Regions from separate parts of the Homo sapiens genome. Here all the other regions are linked to region 1. Evidence: promoter capture Hi-C in 16 types of primary human blood cells and fetal thymus (Javierre and others, 2016). All regions are on one chromosome and are shown on one strand. Each heading gives the region's core, a stretch centred on a gene start or on the middle of the fragment in contact. The rest is flanking DNA. Distances are from core to core; before and after follow the strand shown.

Region 1 (2,540 bases), core at 12-2,511:
GCTGAGGCAGGAGAATCGCTTAAACCCAGGAAGCGGAGGCTGCAGTGAGCCGAGATCGCACTACTGCACTCCAGCCTGGCGACAGAGCGGGACTCCGTTAAAACAAACAACAAAAAAAGATACAGCATTTGAGCCGGGAGCAGTGGCTCACGCCTGTAATCCCAGCACTTTCGTAGGCTGAGGTGGGTTGATCACTTGAGGTCAGGAGTTCGAGACCAGCCTGGCCAACTTGGTGAAACCCGTCTCTACTAAAAATACAAAAATTAGCTGAGCATCCTGGTGCGCGCCTGTAATCCCAGCTACTCCGGAGGCCGAGGAGGGAGAATCGGTTGAACCCGGGAGGCGGAGGTTCCAGTGAGCCCAGATTGCGCCACTGCACTCCAGCCTGACGACACAGCGAGACTCCGTCTCAAAAAAAATAAAAAATAAAAAAAAATAGAGGTTGAAAGCATCAAGTTTTGAATGCACAATAGCTTGGCAGAAAAACTTTCACTTGAAAATTTGATGAGCAACTCCTGGAACCTTCACCAAGCAATTTTTGAAATATACCGAGTTTTGCCAGAAAACTCGTTTTTAACTCAAATAAGGAGCCAAGAGAAATAGTCTGCTTACTCATGCTTACACATTTTGGGAAAAATTACTTGTATACCAGTGTCTGACTCATTCCTCCAACTCTGAAAGGTCTGATGAGGACTTAGCCTCTCGGACTTCGTGAGGTGGCTAATTTACGGTTTATTCCTGGCCTTCCTACCTCCTCAGAAAAGCCAACTAGCAGGGCTCCACAGCAGGGACCGGCCGGCGACCATGTAATGGAACAGGAGCGCAGAAAGAAAGGGGGGCGGACTACGAAAAGTCATCAAGGACCACACAAGCTTTAATACAAAGATTGCACAATGAGCGCGGGGCGCGGCACACAATAAGAAGCTCTGGAAACGCACACTCTCTGACACCTCAAAGTTTTAGGGACTTGGATGGCTGCAGAAAAATATTGGCAAAGGGATTTTCTGGGGAGGCAGGAAGAAAACGGCCGCCCTGCGAGGCGACGACCAGGCGCGGGGGACGAAGGGACCGCTGGACCCACGCCCAGGCCGGGTCGGCGGGGTCGGCAATCCTCAAGGGGGAAATGGGGTCCGAGGCACGCCCCAGGCAGCGGGCCCCGCTCTTCGGCAGCTCCACTCACCAGGAACTGGAGCATGATGTCGGTGGGGAGGGCGAGGAGGGCGCGAAGGACTGCAGCAGCTCCGCGGGCCGGTCCGAGCCTACCTCCCCATGCGCGGGGGGGGCGGAACCCCTCGTCGACTTCCGGGTCACGCCACGCCCCGCCCCGCTCCTCCCACTCAGCCCGCGCCCGGAAACGACTTGCAGTGTCGCAGCGCCCAGGTTCCCCCTGGCGGAGCGCGTTGGCCTCACCGCCTGAACCGGCGGGGCAGCGAGCGCGCGACAGGACTTGCGAAGAGCAAGTCCCGAGCCTGGCTGGGCATCCTTGAGCATCCCGCCTCTGTAAACCTGGGCCGAGGCCCAGGAATCTATATTATTCTCAGCACGCGGACTATTCTGATACACAGCCCAGTTTAGGGCTCTCTAACCTAGAAGGACGGCATGAGCAGCGGGTCCCATCCCTAGGTTCGCAGCTGAATCGTGGGGGCTTTTGCAGCATCCTCTACTTGGGCCCAGCTGGACTTTGCGGGGAGGAAAGGAGGCTTGTAGCTCTCAAAGCTCCGCAGGTGTGCTGTGTAATCAGCGTTGTGTAATCAGGTGTTGTGTAATCAAGGTAGAGGCTGGGTACCGTATGGGGCCCATGCTGCCGTGTGCCGCACGCCAGTCACTGAGATGATGAGTTTTGTAGCAGAGAAAAGGTTTATTCACCAGGCAGCCAGCCGAGGAGACGGGAGAACAGATCTCAAATCTGCCTCCCCAAAGATGGGTTTTAGGGATATTTATGGGATAGAGGAGCAGGGTGGTCTGAGGTGTGGGGAAAGGCGGTTGAAGGTAAGGAAAAGTTTGGCAATGGGTTATCTGCGCGAGGTAGTCAAGCTTCATGGCTCTTTATAGGATACATGGTCACAAAATGACATCCTTAGCATGATCTGAGTGTGGAGGTTTTGGCCCTCTAATGTCAGAAGGACACCCATCGGGCTTTCATGCAGGCCCAGTTGAGAGGTTGGTGGTTTAAACTGTACAAGAACTGACCCCAACTTCCTGAAAAACAAGAAACCTTTATCAAGCAACCCAGATGTCAGAGATGTTATCCATAAGGAAGATAGTGGGAGCTTAGATATATATTGTTTAGCTCTGTGACTTTAGCTATGTGGGTTTTTTAATCCACTAAAAGCAGGTGACTAAAAACAAGTGAGAGAAGTTGCATTTGGCAGGCCTCATCAGGTTGGCTCTCAGTTTCACTGGCCTAGCTGGGTTTCTTGCCTGGGATGGCCATAGGTCCTGTTGACAATTTGTATCATCGCCACAAAGAGTCTGTTCTGTCAGTCTTCCGGTCTGTGTATGTGTGTGTTTTTTTCTCTCTTTCTCTTTTAAAGAATTTA
Region 2 (2,540 bases), core at 11-2,510, 8.1 Mb after region 1:
CTAGCTTGGATACTGCGGCCAGTCTCACCAGCACCAAGGGTGAGTTTGGGGTAGAAGATGACAGACCGGCCCGTGGACCACCACCTCCAAAGTCCGAAGAGGCCAGTTGGTCCGAGAGTGGCGTTAGCAGTAGCAGTGGGGATGGGCCATTTGCAGGTGGGGAGGTGGACAAAAGACTGCACCAGCTGAAGACTCAGTTGGCTACTTTGACCAGTTCTTTGGCTACAGTCACTCAGGAGAAGTCCCGCATGGAGGCTTCTTACTTGGCTGACAAGAAAAAGATGAAACAGGACTTAGAGGATGCCAGTAACAAGGCGGAGGAGGAGAGGGCCCGCCTGGAGGGAGAATTGAAGGGGCTGCAGGAGCAAATAGCAGAAACCAAAGCCCGGCTTATCACGCAGCAGCATGATCGGGCCCAAGAGCAGAGTGACCATGCCTTGATGCTGCGTGAGCTCCAGAAGCTGCTGCAGGAGGAGAGGACCCAGCGCCAGGACTTGGAGCTTAGGTTAGAAGAGACCCGAGAAGCCTTGGCAGGACGAGCATATGCAGCTGAACAGATGGAAGGATTTGAACTGCAGACCAAGCAGCTGACCCGTGAGGTGGAGGAGCTGAAAAGTGAACTGCAGGCCATTCGAGATGAGAAGAATCAGCCAGATCCCCGGCTGCAAGAACTTCAGGAAGAGGCTGCCCGCCTTAAGAGCCATTTCCAGGCTCAGTTACAGCAGGAAATGAGAAAGGTAATTATCCATATCTCTTTCAAACATCAGCCATTGACCTGAAGTGAGAAATATTAGGGTTTTTTTCCTCCTTTGCTAGTTAGAGCTAAGTGTCTATACTGTCATTTTTGATGCCACCTGAGAAGTTCCACTAGTGAACCTGGGAAGTCCTGTTCTATGCGGTGTTGACATATGTGCTTCCAGGAGGATGTGGAGCTTCTCAGTGTAGGCTGGGTTGAAGCCAGACAGCTCTGCACTTCTGGGCATTGGCATCTTACCAGCTGTGCTCTATGAAGCAGTATAGTGGCAGCTGTATAGTAAAAGGTAGCGTGTCTTCTGTTGGTATGTGCCTCTAGGAAGAGTGGCCGAAGGCAAAGGGGATTTTCTCAGAAGTAACCTCTTGTCATTGCCTTTACTCAAGATGTGCCTGTTCTGGAGAAGTGCTATTTTCCAGAACAGGTATTGAAAGGGTGCCTCCTTTCAATGTGGAGAGGGAGATCCAGCGCAGTTTTGAACTTCCAGGAATATTGGATAAGGAAAAGAATGCTGTATGATTTCTTAATAGGATTTGAGGAAGCACCTGAGAAACAACAGTAACACACATTATATGTGGTTAGGTGGAAAGCAGAACAATAGCAGATGTACCAAGGTGCTTCATATTGTTCAGTATAATATGTGTCTTGCAGAATCCAAGCAGGTAATAGGAACTTTTGTTAGCTCCTGAATCAACCGAAAAATCCCTAGTTAGCATTCTTGCCAGGCCATCCCAAACCTGTGACCCTTTTGCTCCCCTCTCCTGCTTTCTCAGAGTTTGCTGTGGGGCTTTTGTGGATGCATTTTTGTCTGTTCCCTTGTTTTGCAGACAGCTCTTGCAGAGGATCAACTCCGTCAGCAATCTCAGGTAGAAGAACAGAGGGTGGCAGCCCTGGAGAATCAAATATCCGAGGTGTCTGAGCTGCTAGGCACCTACGAGAAAGCCAAGCAGAAGGACCAGCTGGCCATTCAGAAGCTGAAGGAGCGCATTCTGCAGCTGGACCTGGAGAACAAGACACTGGCTCTAGCAGCCTCCAGCAGGTCCCCTTTAGACAGCCATGGAGAGGAGTCCAGTCTGGATGTCAATGTCCTGAAAGATAAGATGGAGAAGCTGAAGAGGCTGCTGCAGGTTGCGGCCAGGAAAAGCCAGGTGACCCTGGATGTGGAGAAGCTCTGTGACCTGGAGATAATGCCCAGCTCGGAGGCTGCTGATGGGGAGAAGGCTACTGCACTCTATTACCAACAGGAGCTGAAACAGCTGAAGGAAGAGTTTGAGAGGTACAAGATGAGAGCCCAGGTTGTCCTCAAAAGCAAGAATACCAAAGATGGTAACCTGGGAAAGGAGCTGGAGGCAGCCCAGGAACAGCTTGCAGAGCTGAAGGAGAAGTATATTTCCCTGCGGCTCTCCTGCGAGGAGCTGGAGCACCAACACCAGCAGGAGGCTGATGACTGGAAGCAGGAGCTGGCCCGGCTGCAGCAGCTCCACCGGCAGGAGCTGGAGCGGTGCCAGCTGGACTTCAGGGACCGCACACTGAAACTGGAGGAGGAGCTGCACAAGCAGCGGGATCGTGCCCTAGCTGTGCTCACCGAGAAGGACTTGGAACTGGAGCAACTGCGTTCTGTGGCCTTGGCCTCTGGGCTGCCAGGACGCAGAAGTCCTGTGGGTGGTGGCGGTCCTGGGGACCCAGCTGACACATCATCCTCTGATAGCCTGACCCAAGCATTACAACTTGCAGCGGCCAATGAGCCCACTTTCTTTCTGTACGCTGAGCAACTGGCCCGCAAGGAGGT
Region 3 (2,540 bases), core at 11-2,510, 8.0 Mb after region 1:
TTTGCTGTTGCAGATACAAATGTCAGAACTGCAGTATGAAACGACATCTAGAAGTTTACAGTCATCATAAACCAGAAAATTGGTAAAACCAAGAAATGTCAGGTTCCAAGATTTGGAAGGGTTTTGGGGAGGACAACTGGGGGCAAGTGATAAACTGAATTTATATTATCAAATTATCATGGAGCTAGGAGTAAATTGTAAAAATAAACTTTGCAGGTTCAAATTCAAAATTGAAGAATTTTCAAAAAGTTGAGGGTATATAAAATCAGGCAGAATCTATAGTGCTATGAGCACTAGACCAGGAATCCGAACACTTGGGCTCTTGCTATGGCTCCAACCCAAACCACCATGTGACCTTAAGCAAGTCACTTGCCTTCTTCAAGCCTATCTCCTTATCTTTAAGGGACGGGAGAACAATGATGATTACTAAGATTCTTGCCGGCCTAACCTTTTAGAAGTCAAAAGTACACAAAGATCAGGAGCTTTCAGGTCGACACAAGAGGTGGAGGGAAAGAGAGGAAAAGAGGGCCACAGAGTGAGAAAACTTGGGAGTCAAGTAACAGCGTTTGTGGGAACAGAAAAGTTTCATGATGGCCAAGTACTAGTAGAGAAGAGCCGATGTCAGGATCTCGAAAAACTACTAACTACTCAGCATATGTCAAAATGAACAGAAAGACGGGGGATGGGAGGACAGATATCAACGAATTGTCTCTGTTAATCAATCAGTAATCGATCTGTCCTGGTAAACAGACAGGAGATCCGAATGCCGCAACCTCGGAAATCACTGTGACCCCTGATGTCAAGGTGTCCGGGAGGCAAGGAACAAGGGGACTCCGTGTCTGCTTCCGTCTAGTGAGAGGATTCGGAGAATCGACGAAAAGTGAGGAAGGGGGCAGAGGAAAGGGGATCTGGGACATGGAGCAGGCTGGCGGAAGGTGGAGTCAATGCCTGACTCCCGCCCGAAGGCAGGCAGAGGGGTCGGTGTCCGGGGCCCGTTCTCACCATCTTGATGATGCCCCGCTGCACGGTGGGGACCGCGGGTCCCCCGGAGGAGCCGCCGCTCTGCGCGGAGGACGCCATGTGTGGAGATGCAAAGGCAACGAGTGGAGCGGCTGGCCGGACTGGAGGTGTCAATGTGGGTGTCGGTGTTGGTGAAAGGGAGTCGAGGCGAGGGGCAGGCTGGCTACCAGCTGCGGACGGTGGACGGGACGGACTCGCCGGGCGCTCACAGGAGCAGCAGCGGGACACGGAGCGAAAGAGACGCGATCTCCGCCGCCGCCACACGTTCTACTCGCCGCGCAAGCGTGCCAGAGCGCCACCGCCCTCCGCCCAATTAGCGCCCAGAGCCCGCCGGCCCTCAGGCCAATAGGCACCCTGCTCGCGGAGCCCCGCCTCTTGGTCCCCAAAACGGTGGTGAGTTCCAGGAAGCGCTGAAAGAGTTGATTTGCAAGGATGGGCTAAATATGGGGCGGGACTTCCGGGGCAGCCGGAGTAGGTAATGTCGGGAGGTGTAGTGGGAAGGAAAGGACACGTCAGCATCTGGCCGCGGGGCGCGGGGGGCCATGGGAGCCCCAGGGGCGGAGCCAGCCGCGCCCTCCCGCCTGACCTCGCCCATGACGTCCTTCCCCGCTGGCCTCAGGGGCGCACACTTGTATACCCACCTAGGTGGGCGCCGCTGTACCCGGGAATGCGGCCTGGGAGGGTGGAGCCACGCAGGCAGAGTCCTGGAGGAATCTCCGTACCCGCTCCACTCGACTTCCGACATTTTACCTTGGCTAAAAGTATGGAGAGAACTTGGAAAATCAGAGCTTTGTGGAACCTCCTACCGATGTGGGCTTTGACCTGCCACGCGGCCGCGCGCCCTTTTTGTAGTCAGAGAGTGTGCCTCGCCCTTGTTTGTGTCGCTGGGGTCTAGCACTTGTGAGGCGTTCCATTAATGTTTGTTGGTGGGAGGAATAAATGTCTCAGAGGAAGGACATGCCACGTATACAGGGGAGAGTGACCCTCGTTCTTCGGTCTCTTCCCAGCTGCTCCCGTGACGTTAGGGAAAAGGCTCGCTTCACGCTCTCACCCGACCCAGTGTGAAGCGCCTCCAGCCACCGGATACCTTCCCTAGCCCCAGTAAAAAGGTCGGGGAAGGAACGGGAAAGCCAAGGCCTACAAATATTTAAGTGACTGTTTAGCGAGAACTAATATTCGTTGAGTGCCCACTATGTGGAACCAAGGACCTTGCATGTGTTATGTCATTTAATCGTAAAACTTGGCTCTACACTGAAGACAGTACTTCCCTTGCAGTTCTTTTTGTTTCTTTGGTTTTGTGGCTTTTTTGAGACAAAGTCTCGCTCTGTCGCTCAGGCTGGAGTGCGGGGGCACGATCACGGCTCACTGCAGCCTTGACACTCCCAGGCTCAAGCGATCCTCCTGCCTCAGTCTCCGGTGTAGCTGGAGCTGGTACCACGGGTCCGCGCTACCACGCCCAGCTAATTTTTTTTTTGTAGAGCTGAGATTTCACTATGTTGCCCAGGCTGGTCTCCTGGGCT
Region 4 (2,540 bases), core at 17-2,516, 7.3 Mb after region 1:
GATGGCACCACTGCACTCCAGCCTGGGCGACAGAGCGAGACTGTGTCTCAAAAAAAAAAAAAAGAAGTTATTGCCGTAGAGATGTCCTAGCTTCCAGGTAGGGTGCAGATGATTCCAGAATGCCTGTTTTGATTCCTGATAGTCTAACTGGAAACATAGTTCTAATTCTTTATTTTTTTACTCCATCTTATCCCAGGTGTGGTGGCTATGTAGAAAGGCAAAATTTCTGTTCATTGATAAAAAGGTTAAGGGTTAAAAGGAGTAGGCAGTGACTAGGAGCTTTATTTTAAGACCAGCATTCCCTGAATTGGCAGTTTCTTTGTCTCCACTGGTTCCATTATTGTCTGTGATGACTAGGGGTCATTTACAGAGGTAGGGTTTTTAAAAGGAGAGCCTTTCTGATGCCACTTTTCTGCTTGACAGGCCGGACAGTGGCTGTGGATTGGGCCGTGGCAAAGGATAAATATAAAGATACACAGTCTGTTTCTGCTATAGGTAAGATGTGGTAGTGTTGGGTGAGTAGGGGCGTTGTATAACCTGGGTGAGAGTATTGAAACAACTCCTGTGTTCATGATAAAAGTGTAAGAAAAAGGCTGGGTGCAGTGGCTCTTGCCTGTAATTCCAGCACTTTGGGTGGATTGCTTGCAGTCAGGAGTTTGAGACCAGCCTGGCCAACATGCAAAACCCCATCTCTACTAAAAATACAAAAATTAGCTGGGCTTGGTGGTGGGCGCCTGTCATCCCACCTGCTTGGGAGGCTGAGGCAGGTTCTTGAACCTGGGAGGCAGAGGTTGCAGTGAGCCGAGATCACCCCACTGCACTCCAGCCTGGGCAACAAAACGAGACTTCGTCTCAAAAAAAAAGTGTAAGAGAACCTGCTTATCAGAGTAAGACTATTGTGGAAGATTAACCAAAAGAATGAGACTGGGCTTTCAGGGAAAACTCTGAATTCCTGCTGGCTCAGAAGTGAGTCCAGGTCTGTTTGTCAATTCATATTGTACCATTTGGTGCTCTGGTCCCAAAACCTAGGCTCTTTTGAGTCTAAGCCCCTTCCTGGGAGTGGCTGTGAGTGAGCCTGAGTTCACTGTCCCCTTTACTTGCTGTTGTTTCCAGGCTGTGCATAATAGGAGTGATGGAACATTAAGAATAGAGAAACTTAAAACTTGAGGTTTATTTAGAAAACAATTGGCTGGTAAGCCACCAGGGTCTCAGAGAATAGAACGCACTGAGATTAAAGTTCATGGCTTGGCTTTGCCCCCTAGTGAGCATTTTGCTGGCTATGATGTACGAATGGTAGACTGCTTGGAGAGGCTCAGTTGCCACTTCTTTCAGTCTGGGCCAGATGAACCTTCAGACTGATGAATGGGACAAACTCTAAAGGAATCTGGGTGTTGAGAGTTTTGTTTATTTCTGTTTTTGCTTTTTCTTTTCTTTATACTTTCTCCTGTTATATGCAGTAAGAAAAATATACGAAATTCTGTAAAACCGATGAAACCAAGAACTTGGAGTATTGGTTACTTTTGTTAAAATAACATTGTTTTGGATATTAAATGAATTCCTCCTTTCTTTACCTCCCTCCATAGGTGAGGAAAAGAGCCATGAATCTAAACATCAGGAATCAGTTAAAAAGAAGGGCAGAGAGGAAGAGGATATGGAAGAGGAAGAAAACGATGATGATGACGATGATGATGATGAAGAAGATGGGGTTTTTGATGATGAAGATGAAGAGGAAGAGAATATAGAATCAAAGGTGACCAAGCCTGTGCAAATTCAGAAGAGGTAAGCAGCTCATCCTGTTCTGAGACAGCAGAGGAAGATTCAAGATTGTCTCCGAGAGGAAAAATTCTCCTTTTTCTGCCTGCATCATTGCAGAATTGACATGTGTAATGAAATTGAATAGGCCCTCTGTCAGCCCACCTCCTTAGTTCTGATCTGTGCCATTGCAGAGCAGTCAAGAGACCAGCCCCTGCAAAAAGCAGTGATCATTCTGAGGAGGACAGTGACCTAGAGGAAAGCGATAGTATTGATGATGGAGAGGAACTGGCTCAGAGTGATACCAGCACTGAGGAGCAAGAGGATAAAGGTTTGTTTGGATTTTCATAAATGTCTTTAGACTTTAAAAAAGTTACTGAAGTTACGGAAATGAGCATCAGTTCTGCTTAGATCTCTTTTTAAATAGGACTCTAAGGTGTTCTATCAAATTTATGTTTAAATGCTGAAAAGGAAACCTTTATACTCCTTTCTTCCAAAGGTTTTTTTGTTGTTTCCTTTTTGTTTGTTTTGTTTTTTAAGTGAGTTTTGGAGTGGTGTTTGAGGGTTAAGATTCTTAGGGAATTGAAAACCTAGCTTAATGCTGAGGTTCTACCTCTCTCTGGATTGTCCAACTTGATAGAATAACCAGGTAAACAGCATCTTATACAGATAATATAGATGAAACAGATGATATAACCATCTCAACATCAAGCTAGATTTTAAACAACTCCTTGGAGTTGAGATGGGGATAAAGAACTGTTTAGTCAGTTTGGACTGACATAACAAAA
Region 5 (2,540 bases), core at 1-2,500, 6.1 Mb before region 1:
AAAAATCAATTTTTAAAAAATATTATCTAGCCGGGCACGGTGGCTCACGCCTGTAATCCCAGCACTTTGGGAGGCTGAAGTGGGCAGATCACGAGGTCAGGAGTTCGAGACCAGCCTGGCCAATATGGTGAAACCCCATCTCTACTACAAATACAAAAATTAGCTGGGCGTGGTGGCGCGTGCCTGTAGTCCCAGCTACTCAGGAGGCTGAGGCAGGAGAATCGCTTGAACCCGGGAGGCGAAGGTTGCAGTGAGCCAGGATCGTGTCACTGTACTCTAGCCGGGGCAACAGAGTGAGACGCTGTCTCAAAAAAAAAAAAAAAAAAAAAAAATCTAATTTGGGCATATCTCAGAAGTTCATAAACACAGAAACATTAATATAGTAAAATTTAGTTTATTGCCATGTATTTATTTTAAAAAGCTTTCTTAGTATTTATGTCCATAAAAGCAAACAAAAGCACAAAATTCACAATGTCTAATTTTAGCAATTTACTCAAGAAGTGAAAAAAGCACCATCTATCTCATTTAAAGACATATTTCCAATATAATTTAAATACATTAAAATTGTTTTGATCAATTAGGTACTAAAAACAACTTTAATGATAAGTCAATTGAGAAGAATTTGTCATAGAATTCTTTTAAATATTTTAAAGTTTCTTTTATGCATGCATTTTTGTTACAAACAGGGTAATAAAAAGTTCTTAACTATACCATATACTATTAAGATACACTTCTGAGGGGAAAATAAAAACAGTAAAACAAGTTCAAAGAAAAAAGAATAATGGAAAATTTCCAAATGCTGAACTGGTATTTTTTTACAGGATAGTAGGTATCACATTGCTATGCTATTTAGATTCCATTGATACATTTAAAAATAACACAATTTTGTATTGAAAAAAATTTCTTAATGTCGCTTGCAGACATCCAGAGGGGTATATTATTTTCAAAATTCTTATAGCATTTTCAAAAGTTTAAAAACTCTTTCCTAAGGGATATCTTCTTAATCTTCTTTAACCTTTACGTGTACATCTTTTCTATGTTGTACTGTATTTTGTTTAAAGAGAATATTAGGCCGGGCATAATGGCTCATGCCTGTAATTCCAGTATTTGGGGAGGCTAAGGTGGGAGGATCATTTGAGCCCAGCAGTTTGAGACCAGCCTGGGCAACATGGTGAAACCTCATCTCTACAAAAAAATTGACAAATTAGCCAGGCATGATGGTGTACACCTGTTGTCCCAGCTACTTGGGAGAAGGCTGAGGTGGGAAGATCACCTGAGCCTGGGGAGGTAGAGGCTGCAGTAAGCTGTGATCACACCATTGCACTCCAGCCTGGTTGACAGAGGGAGACCCTGTCTCAAAACAAAAACAAAAAAAGAGAAAATTAAAAACTTCTTGGCTGGGCACAGTGGCTCATGCCTGTAATCTCACAACTTTGGGAGGCCGAGGTGGATGGATCACCTGAGGTCAGGAGTTCAAGACCAGCCTGACCAACATGGTGAAACCCCGCCTCTACGAAAATTACAAAAATTAGCCAGGTGGTGTGGCACGCACCTATAATCCTAGCTACTCAGGAGGCTGAGGCAGGAGAATCACTTGAATCCAGGAGACAGAGGTTGCAATGAGCCGAGATTGTGCCATTGCACTCCAGCCTGGGTGACAGAGTGAGATTCTGGCTCAAAAAAAATAAAATTAAAAAAATCTTAATTTCAAATAGAAATTTCACATACTAAGTACCAAAGAGGTTCCGAATAAATCTGCACACTCACATTAGTGTAATTCTTATCTTGGCATACGCTTCTTCCTGGTTAGGGCTAGATCCTTCCAAAAGACAATACATTCAGAGTTTTTGTAATTCTCAACAATAAGTACTGGGATGGATAATTCAGTTTTAGGCTTTATTCAAAAGTTACTTGTGACTAAAACTGTAAGTATAAAAATAATTTTTTAAAGGAAGGGATAAATGTACAAACTCTTAGCAAGTAGAGAAATAAGAGTTATGGACATCTTCTAGTGAGTTGCCTTAACTCATAAGTACTGGTACTCTTAACCCTAGTTAGTTACAGTGTAGCCAAGCTTTTAAAAAAGAAAAGGAGAAAAAGAAAAAAACAGCTATTTTCACAAGCTTCTTACCAGCTATGATTGTTGTTGCTTGTCGCCTCACATTATTTTTATCCATGTATTCACCATAGTCTATTTTCCCTTCCAAATAAATTCGAGACCTGATATAAATAAAATGTACAGTTTTTAGTTGAGATCTTAATATGCTTTATAAGAGTCAGGTCAGGGTGGTACTGAGTATATGACAAGGATGAAATATATAATCATATATAAGCTAATTTTTGCTACCACTTCTCAAGGTTCAGGATTAGGAGTACTGAAACAGAGTGTCCAAACAGACTTGGTAACATCTAGGTAAAACAGACAATGTTTTCATCTGTCAGCTATTTCTCTTACGGAAGTTAAAAAATAAAACAAAACAGTTCAAAGGGAAATTTAGTGGCAACATTTAAATCTCTAGGAATAATTTCCAATGTATCAT
Region 6 (2,540 bases), core at 17-2,516, 5.9 Mb before region 1:
GGGCACGTGTCATCAGAACTTCCTGAGGCTGTGTCGCAGGCGCACGTCCTTAACTTTGGCAAAATAAACTTACTAAATTGACTAAGACCTGTCTCAGATTTTGGGGGTTCACACTACTAACTTGGGAAAGGACTTCTCTTTCTCTAAGATGTCTTAATCTCTTCCACTATAAATATAATGAATAAAAATAGCTTCCTTTCTGATGTCTCTACTTTATTCTCTAACCACTGGATATAAGTATGCATGTAGTTCCAGCTCTGGTTACAAGAAGTCTTTGTTTTTGCTTTGAATAGCATTTATTTTTCTTTTACACCACATGTTTTATAGGGATAAGCACAGCTGAGCAAGATTTTAACCTGAGGCCCTTTGGGGCTGTTTTGCTGCAGATGCAAAGGTGGGATGGGGCTGTCAGATAGTTACCAGTGTTTTCCATAGAGCCAATGGCCTCCCCAGGTCAGCAGGCAGAGCCCAGCTGTAGTTTTCTTCCAGTGATTTCGAAGCGTTTTAAAGAACACCGTCATCTTCTAGAGATTTGCTAGGTTAGTAGAGGCGGAAAGAGAAAAAAATATAATTTATCCATGGTCTTCATGTAATGTCCCTATTACTCTGTCTTCCATTCTTTTATCCTCTCTCACTCCTTTTTTTCCCACTCACTCCTCTTCCTCCTTACCACTTCTCCTCTGGCCTCAGCTCATCTTCTCCCTTCTATTTCCATCATCTTCATCTTCTCATCCACCCACACATCCATCCACCTTTCTTTCTTCCTTCACGTATTTCCACCTAACCTATACTTCTTCCCTCTCTGATCACTATTTCTTCATTGCAATAGAAGGAAGAGGGAGGGGCAGAAAGAGAGGAAGGGAATTCCAGGCTTCCTCTGGTTTTTCTAACTCCTTACAGCCTCACTGTACCACTGTTTAAGAGTATACATTTGTCTATCCATCATAATGTAAGTGTCCCAAAAAATAATAATATGAAGGGCGAGTTCAAAATAGAAGAAAATACCAGGTCCTCAATAGGAAAAGAAACAGAAAACATGGATAGAAAACTCAATGAAGAGGCAATGTACATGGCTATCTAAAAATGTTCAACTTCCTGAATAATCAGACATGCATATTACAAAGAACTATCATTATTGACCAAAATAAATTTTTAAATGATCATATTCACTGATGACATAACAAAATGATAGACACTCATACACTCCTTTAAAGAAGGTAAATTAGGAAGACTTTACTAAAAAACAGAGTGACACTATAGAATATCTTTATTCTTCATGACATTTATTATTTGGTGATGCTTATATTCATTTGCTCATTTATTAGCCTAATCCTACTGGAATGTAAACTCCATGAGAGTAAGGACATAATTCTGGTCACTGCTGTATCCCATGCCTAAAGTAAGATCCGGCACACAATAGCTGTTTAAGAAATATTTGTTCAATGAATAAGTTAAATAGCAATTAAATATTTTTTTACCCAAAATTTTTACTGATGGGGGAAAAAACCCAAAACATAATGTTAAGTAAAATTAGCAGGATAAAAAGCCATATATAATTGGCATTATACCAATTATGTTCAAACATGAGTATAAATTTAAAAAGAAAACCAATACAATTAAACAAAAACAATTTTTTTTTTTTTTTTTTTAGACAGGGTCTCACTCTGTCACCTAGGATGGAGTCCAGTGGCACAATCATAGCTCACTATAACTTCTGGGCCCAAACAAATCTCCTGCCTCAGCCTCCCAAGTAGCTGGGACCACAGGCACATACCACTACACTTGGCTAATTTTTTTCTTTCCTTTTTTTGTTAGAGACAAGGTCTCACTATGTTGCCCAGGCTGGTCTCAAACTCCTGGCCTCAAGCAATCCTCCCGCCTTGGCCATCCAAATTGCTGGGATTACAGACGTGAGCCACTGCACCTGGCTCAAAAACGAAATTTTAAAGTAGATCCCTCTAGGTTGTGGAATGGTGGGTGATGTTTATTTTTAAAATTGCAATGTACTTTCTAAGTTTTTGAAAATGAACTTATTTTCTAGATAAACAAAAATTTAAGCAAAATTTTTTTATGACTATCTGTTAGTGAGGTATATAGACCAAGAAAAAAAAAACTGTTTCCACTTAAAAGTCCAGTTCTTTTATGACTCCCTTTAAATCCCATTGGTTAAAATTCCTCTCAAGGGTAGAAACATCCTTATCAAAAGCAGCAGTGAAGCCAGTGCCAGGGAGACCATCTTCCTGTGAATCCCATACACCGTCAGGCTGACACATGATTCCAAAGGCCCAACTAATTCTTGAACTCCTCTCCATCTGGCCCTAAATCACTCCTTCATTCAAGAGCCCTTTAATAAACACCTATATGGTAGGCTCTGTGCTGGGGGTGAGGGCAGAGAAGAATGGGTCTCATGCGTTCTCTCAAGTGCTCACAACTGTCAAACCCACAATGCTAACACAATTATACAATTATGATTGCAGTACAGTGGGATAAATGTCGAGGAGTCAGCACAAGGCTTTGTGAGAGTCTGCAAGAATGAACCT
Region 7 (2,540 bases), core at 25-2,524, 5.4 Mb before region 1:
TCTGTAGCCATTCCCACCAAAACATACTACCGAACCGTGCATGCCCTTCCAGGAGAGCCAGACCTTTCTAACTCTCCCCAGCCCACCACCTCCCCGGGTCCTCCGCACAGGCGGCGGCGCTAGCCTTACTGCGCAGGCGCCAGGTACACCTCGGAGGCCTCAGGAGGGGGAGCCAGTAACTCCGGGTCGTTCACTAGGGCTCCGCTCTAGCTGCCAAGCTTCCGTTTCTCTACTGCTCCCCGTAATAGTTGCCTGCGCGAGCTTGGAGCCGGGTAGAGGGCGGGCCTTCCGGGACGAGGGCGCGTGGGTGAGGAAGGTCAGGTCTAGGTAAGGCTGTCGGTGACTTTGGGGGTCTGCAGCAAGGGGCGATGGCTGCGAAGTCTACGGGGGTCTCCAACCTTGTAGAGTCGCCAGGAATAGGGCGAATCCACTTCATTAGTGACCAGCTCGGGCGGTTCACGTGCATCACACAAATAACTTGGCCTTTTTCTGCCTCAGTTGGGGGATTTCTTAAACGTAGAATACCCGCGTTTCCGCTGCCGTAATTTCCTCTCAGGCGCAATTACTCTCTTCCATATTGGTTAACAGTAGAAGGCTCAGTTTCTCTGCTCATCACACGGCCTTCGGCACTGTAGCTTTGGGTGGTGGGCTGCAGATTAATTTTGTAACCACCTTAAGAAAAATACGGTAAGGTGATATTTAAGAAAAATATTTGCGAAATGCGCTCCCGAGTCAAACATCGGTTGACTTGACAATACTACAGTTTCCATCACAGTCAGGCATGATCGAGTCAGGTGGAGGGAGTTGAAGATTGTTCTTGATGAACTGAATGCAGCTAATACATTTTCAGTGCCGTTGATGCCTCTATGACTCCGTAAAATAATCGGTACCGGGTTTTTTTGTTTTTAAGCATTCTGTTGAGATTGTTTTTATGTTTAGATTGTTTCTATGACAACGTGTGTACACTGTATGTGAATTCCTTGGATCCTGATGGTTATTAGGGTGGGCACTGTGCCGTGAATTTTGCATATTAGCTTCACATCGCAGATAGTATGACTGTCCTCGTGTAGTCGATGAGAGAACCTGGCAGAGAATAAGCACCATTACAAAAACGACGTGGCCATTAAAAGGCAGAGGCGAGATTCCAACCAGCTTTTTTATTCTGCAGCTGGTGCGTTCTGCTAACCAATGGTTTTTGGGAAACTGGAGAAAGCTCTCTCCCAGAACAATTTACACACACACATACATACACATATCGGCATACAGATGTACACTTCCACTGTTTTCAAAACGCTGAAGCACATCCCGGTTAAGAACTCTTGCACTTCATCTTTACCTTTCAAAGAGAAAAGGCAAACCTAATACAAAGCCACTTATTGAAATAATCTTTTAAATGCATCAGACCTATCAAAAAGATCAAAGAAGTTTGCCCTGTTATGCCAAAGTAAAAATATGGGAATTTTCTTCTCATGTGGGCTTAATTTGTTTTGCTCAGCACATTTGAGTAATTTGTTTTTGCTTAGCATTTTCAGCTCCAGTTAACTTTTTTCATGAGAGTACAGTTTTCTTTAGTTCACATTTAAAGAAAGGTAACACTTAAAGTGACTTGTACTCCCCGAGAATGGTTTCATGTGAATCAAAATGTAATTGACATGCACGTTGTAAGAAAAGCTCCCGTGTTATTCTTCGTGAGAGACATGTGTCTGTGCACTGTGGAAGGAAACAACAAAGCAGTGTCATTGGTAATTGTTAAAACCACTTTCAGTTTCCTCCTGTTTAGCAAGTGGGCCTTTGTTTCTAGTAAGGGATTCAGGTTTGAAAAGGCTTATTCCCTTTCTCTGTCATAAAACTTTAGGACTTGGATTTTATGATATAACCATGTTCCAGCCTATTCTAGTGTGACCTTTTTACTTACAAGTTATGTATCCCAGTAATTTGCCACATTCCAAAATGGGCATGGACATAACAGCAGCATCCTGTGATGGCTTCAGTGACTACTGTCCTACTGAGTCCCTTCCTCCTCCTGGCTATCTTGTCAAGTTATCAAGGTGCTGGTCCTCTCCCTATGTTTCTCTGGCTGTCAGTCTTTGTAAATGAGGTCATCATTCCAGGGAGGCACAAAGTTTTTACTATATGGAGTATCTATCTGTCTGTCTCTCTCTCTTTTTTTTTTTTTCTTAAACATGATTAAGAACAAGGAATAAACAAATGTGTCTATGTAGAATATATGAAAACCAAACTTACAGATCTGGGCTCGTTCTTTTTTGTAAGTTACCATTTACTACTCAGTGCCACTGTTACTCATTTTCGCACTAGTCATGCAAGCTTTGTTTTCAGAAAAGGAGACTCAGAGAAGATGAGTAACTGTTCACAATAACCCAAGGATTAAGTGACAGAGCCAGTAGTCAAACCTAGGCCTCAGGAATCCCTGTTGCCTCTTCATTGACAAATAAAGGGACTTGGAATTCAGAACAGATTTTCCTGAAAACACTGTAACAAACTGATAGTTCCCATACCAGCTTACAGATAACTAACTGTGG

What was found. Contacts are between HindIII fragments. The CHiCAGO score rates a contact against its expected background, and 5 or more counts as called.
Region 2: a contact is called between a fragment that was not itself captured here and the fragment with the promoter of STMP1 in region 1, in 2 of 17 cell types (naive CD4 T cells and fetal thymus). The highest score is 8.4, in naive CD4 T cells.
Region 3: the fragment with the promoter of SND1 here is called in contact with the fragment with the promoter of STMP1 in region 1 in 2 of 17 cell types (total CD4 T cells and non-activated CD4 T cells); the score reaches 7.2 in total CD4 T cells.
Region 4: a fragment that was not itself captured here is called in contact with the fragment with the promoter of STMP1 in region 1 in 1 of 17 cell types (total B cells); the score reaches 5.8 in total B cells.
Region 5: a contact is called between a fragment that was not itself captured here and the fragment with the promoter of STMP1 in region 1, in 4 of 17 cell types (total CD4 T cells, non-activated CD4 T cells, total B cells and 1 more). The highest score is 11.4, in total CD4 T cells.
Region 6: a contact is called between a fragment that was not itself captured here and the fragment with the promoter of STMP1 in region 1, in 3 of 17 cell types (naive CD4 T cells, total CD8 T cells and total B cells). The highest score is 9.3, in naive CD4 T cells.
Region 7: a fragment that was not itself captured here is called in contact with the fragment with the promoter of STMP1 in region 1 in 1 of 17 cell types (fetal thymus); the score reaches 13.7 in fetal thymus.

The regions. Positions count from the first base shown.
Region 1 is chr7:135,661,235-135,663,774 of GRCh38, reverse strand. STMP1 (short transmembrane mitochondrial protein 1) reads right to left here and starts at 1,261. Exons shown (of 3, transcript NM_001130929.2): 1 at 1,181-1,261. The coding sequence starts at 1,195. RefSeq lists enhancers at 1-2, 3-527 and a silencer at 1,167-1,386. The HindIII fragment of the contact is 1,162 bases long and covers 875-2,036 here.
Region 2 is chr7:127,582,348-127,584,887 of GRCh38, reverse strand. GCC1 (GRIP and coiled-coil domain containing 1) reads left to right here. Exons shown (of 2, transcript NM_024523.6): 1 at 1-737; 2 at 1,579-2,540. All of the region lies in intron 1 of LOC105375490 (a long non-coding RNA gene), which reads left to right. Among named protein-coding and RNA genes, the nearest start is that of GCC1, 2.0 kb to the left of the region's middle. RefSeq lists enhancers at 1-944, 663-1,862. The HindIII fragment of the contact is 4,362 bases long and covers 1-2,540 here.
Region 3 is chr7:127,650,914-127,653,453 of GRCh38, reverse strand. It overlaps SND1 (staphylococcal nuclease and tudor domain containing 1), which reads right to left and starts at 1,260. Exons shown (of 24, transcript NM_014390.4): 1 at 1,003-1,260. The coding sequence starts at 1,080. SND1-DT (SND1 divergent transcript) reads left to right here and starts at 1,622. Exons shown (of 2, transcript NR_186577.1): 1 at 1,622-1,781. RefSeq lists enhancers at 1,042-1,221, 1,046-1,664 and a silencer at 1,462-1,711. The HindIII fragment of the contact is 9,151 bases long and covers 1-2,540 here.
Region 4 is chr7:128,335,086-128,337,625 of GRCh38, reverse strand. RBM28 (RNA binding motif protein 28) reads left to right here. Exons shown (of 19, transcript NM_018077.3): 6 at 424-495; 7 at 1,584-1,779; 8 at 1,947-2,083. Among named protein-coding and RNA genes, the nearest start is that of RBM28, 7.6 kb to the left of the region's middle. The HindIII fragment of the contact is 3,765 bases long and covers 1-2,540 here.
Region 5 is chr7:141,745,176-141,747,715 of GRCh38, reverse strand. SSBP1 (single stranded DNA binding protein 1) reads right to left here. Exons shown (of 7, transcript NM_003143.3): 6 at 2,132-2,220. Among named protein-coding and RNA genes, the nearest start is that of SSBP1, 8.1 kb to the right of the region's middle. RefSeq lists a silencer at 164-306. The HindIII fragment of the contact is 1,653 bases long and covers 424-2,076 here.
Region 6 is chr7:141,553,448-141,555,987 of GRCh38, reverse strand. It overlaps AGK (acylglycerol kinase), which reads right to left. Exons shown (of 16, transcript NM_018238.4): 2 at 421-535. The coding sequence starts at 521. Among named protein-coding and RNA genes, the nearest start is that of AGK, 3.3 kb to the right of the region's middle. The HindIII fragment of the contact is 5,219 bases long and covers 1-2,540 here.
Region 7 is chr7:141,012,698-141,015,237 of GRCh38, reverse strand. MRPS33 (mitochondrial ribosomal protein S33) reads left to right here and starts at 286. Exons shown (of 3, transcript NM_053035.3): 1 at 286-327. RefSeq lists a silencer at 105-413 and enhancers at 478-527, 1-635, 1,778-1,847. The HindIII fragment of the contact is 2,107 bases long and covers 221-2,327 here.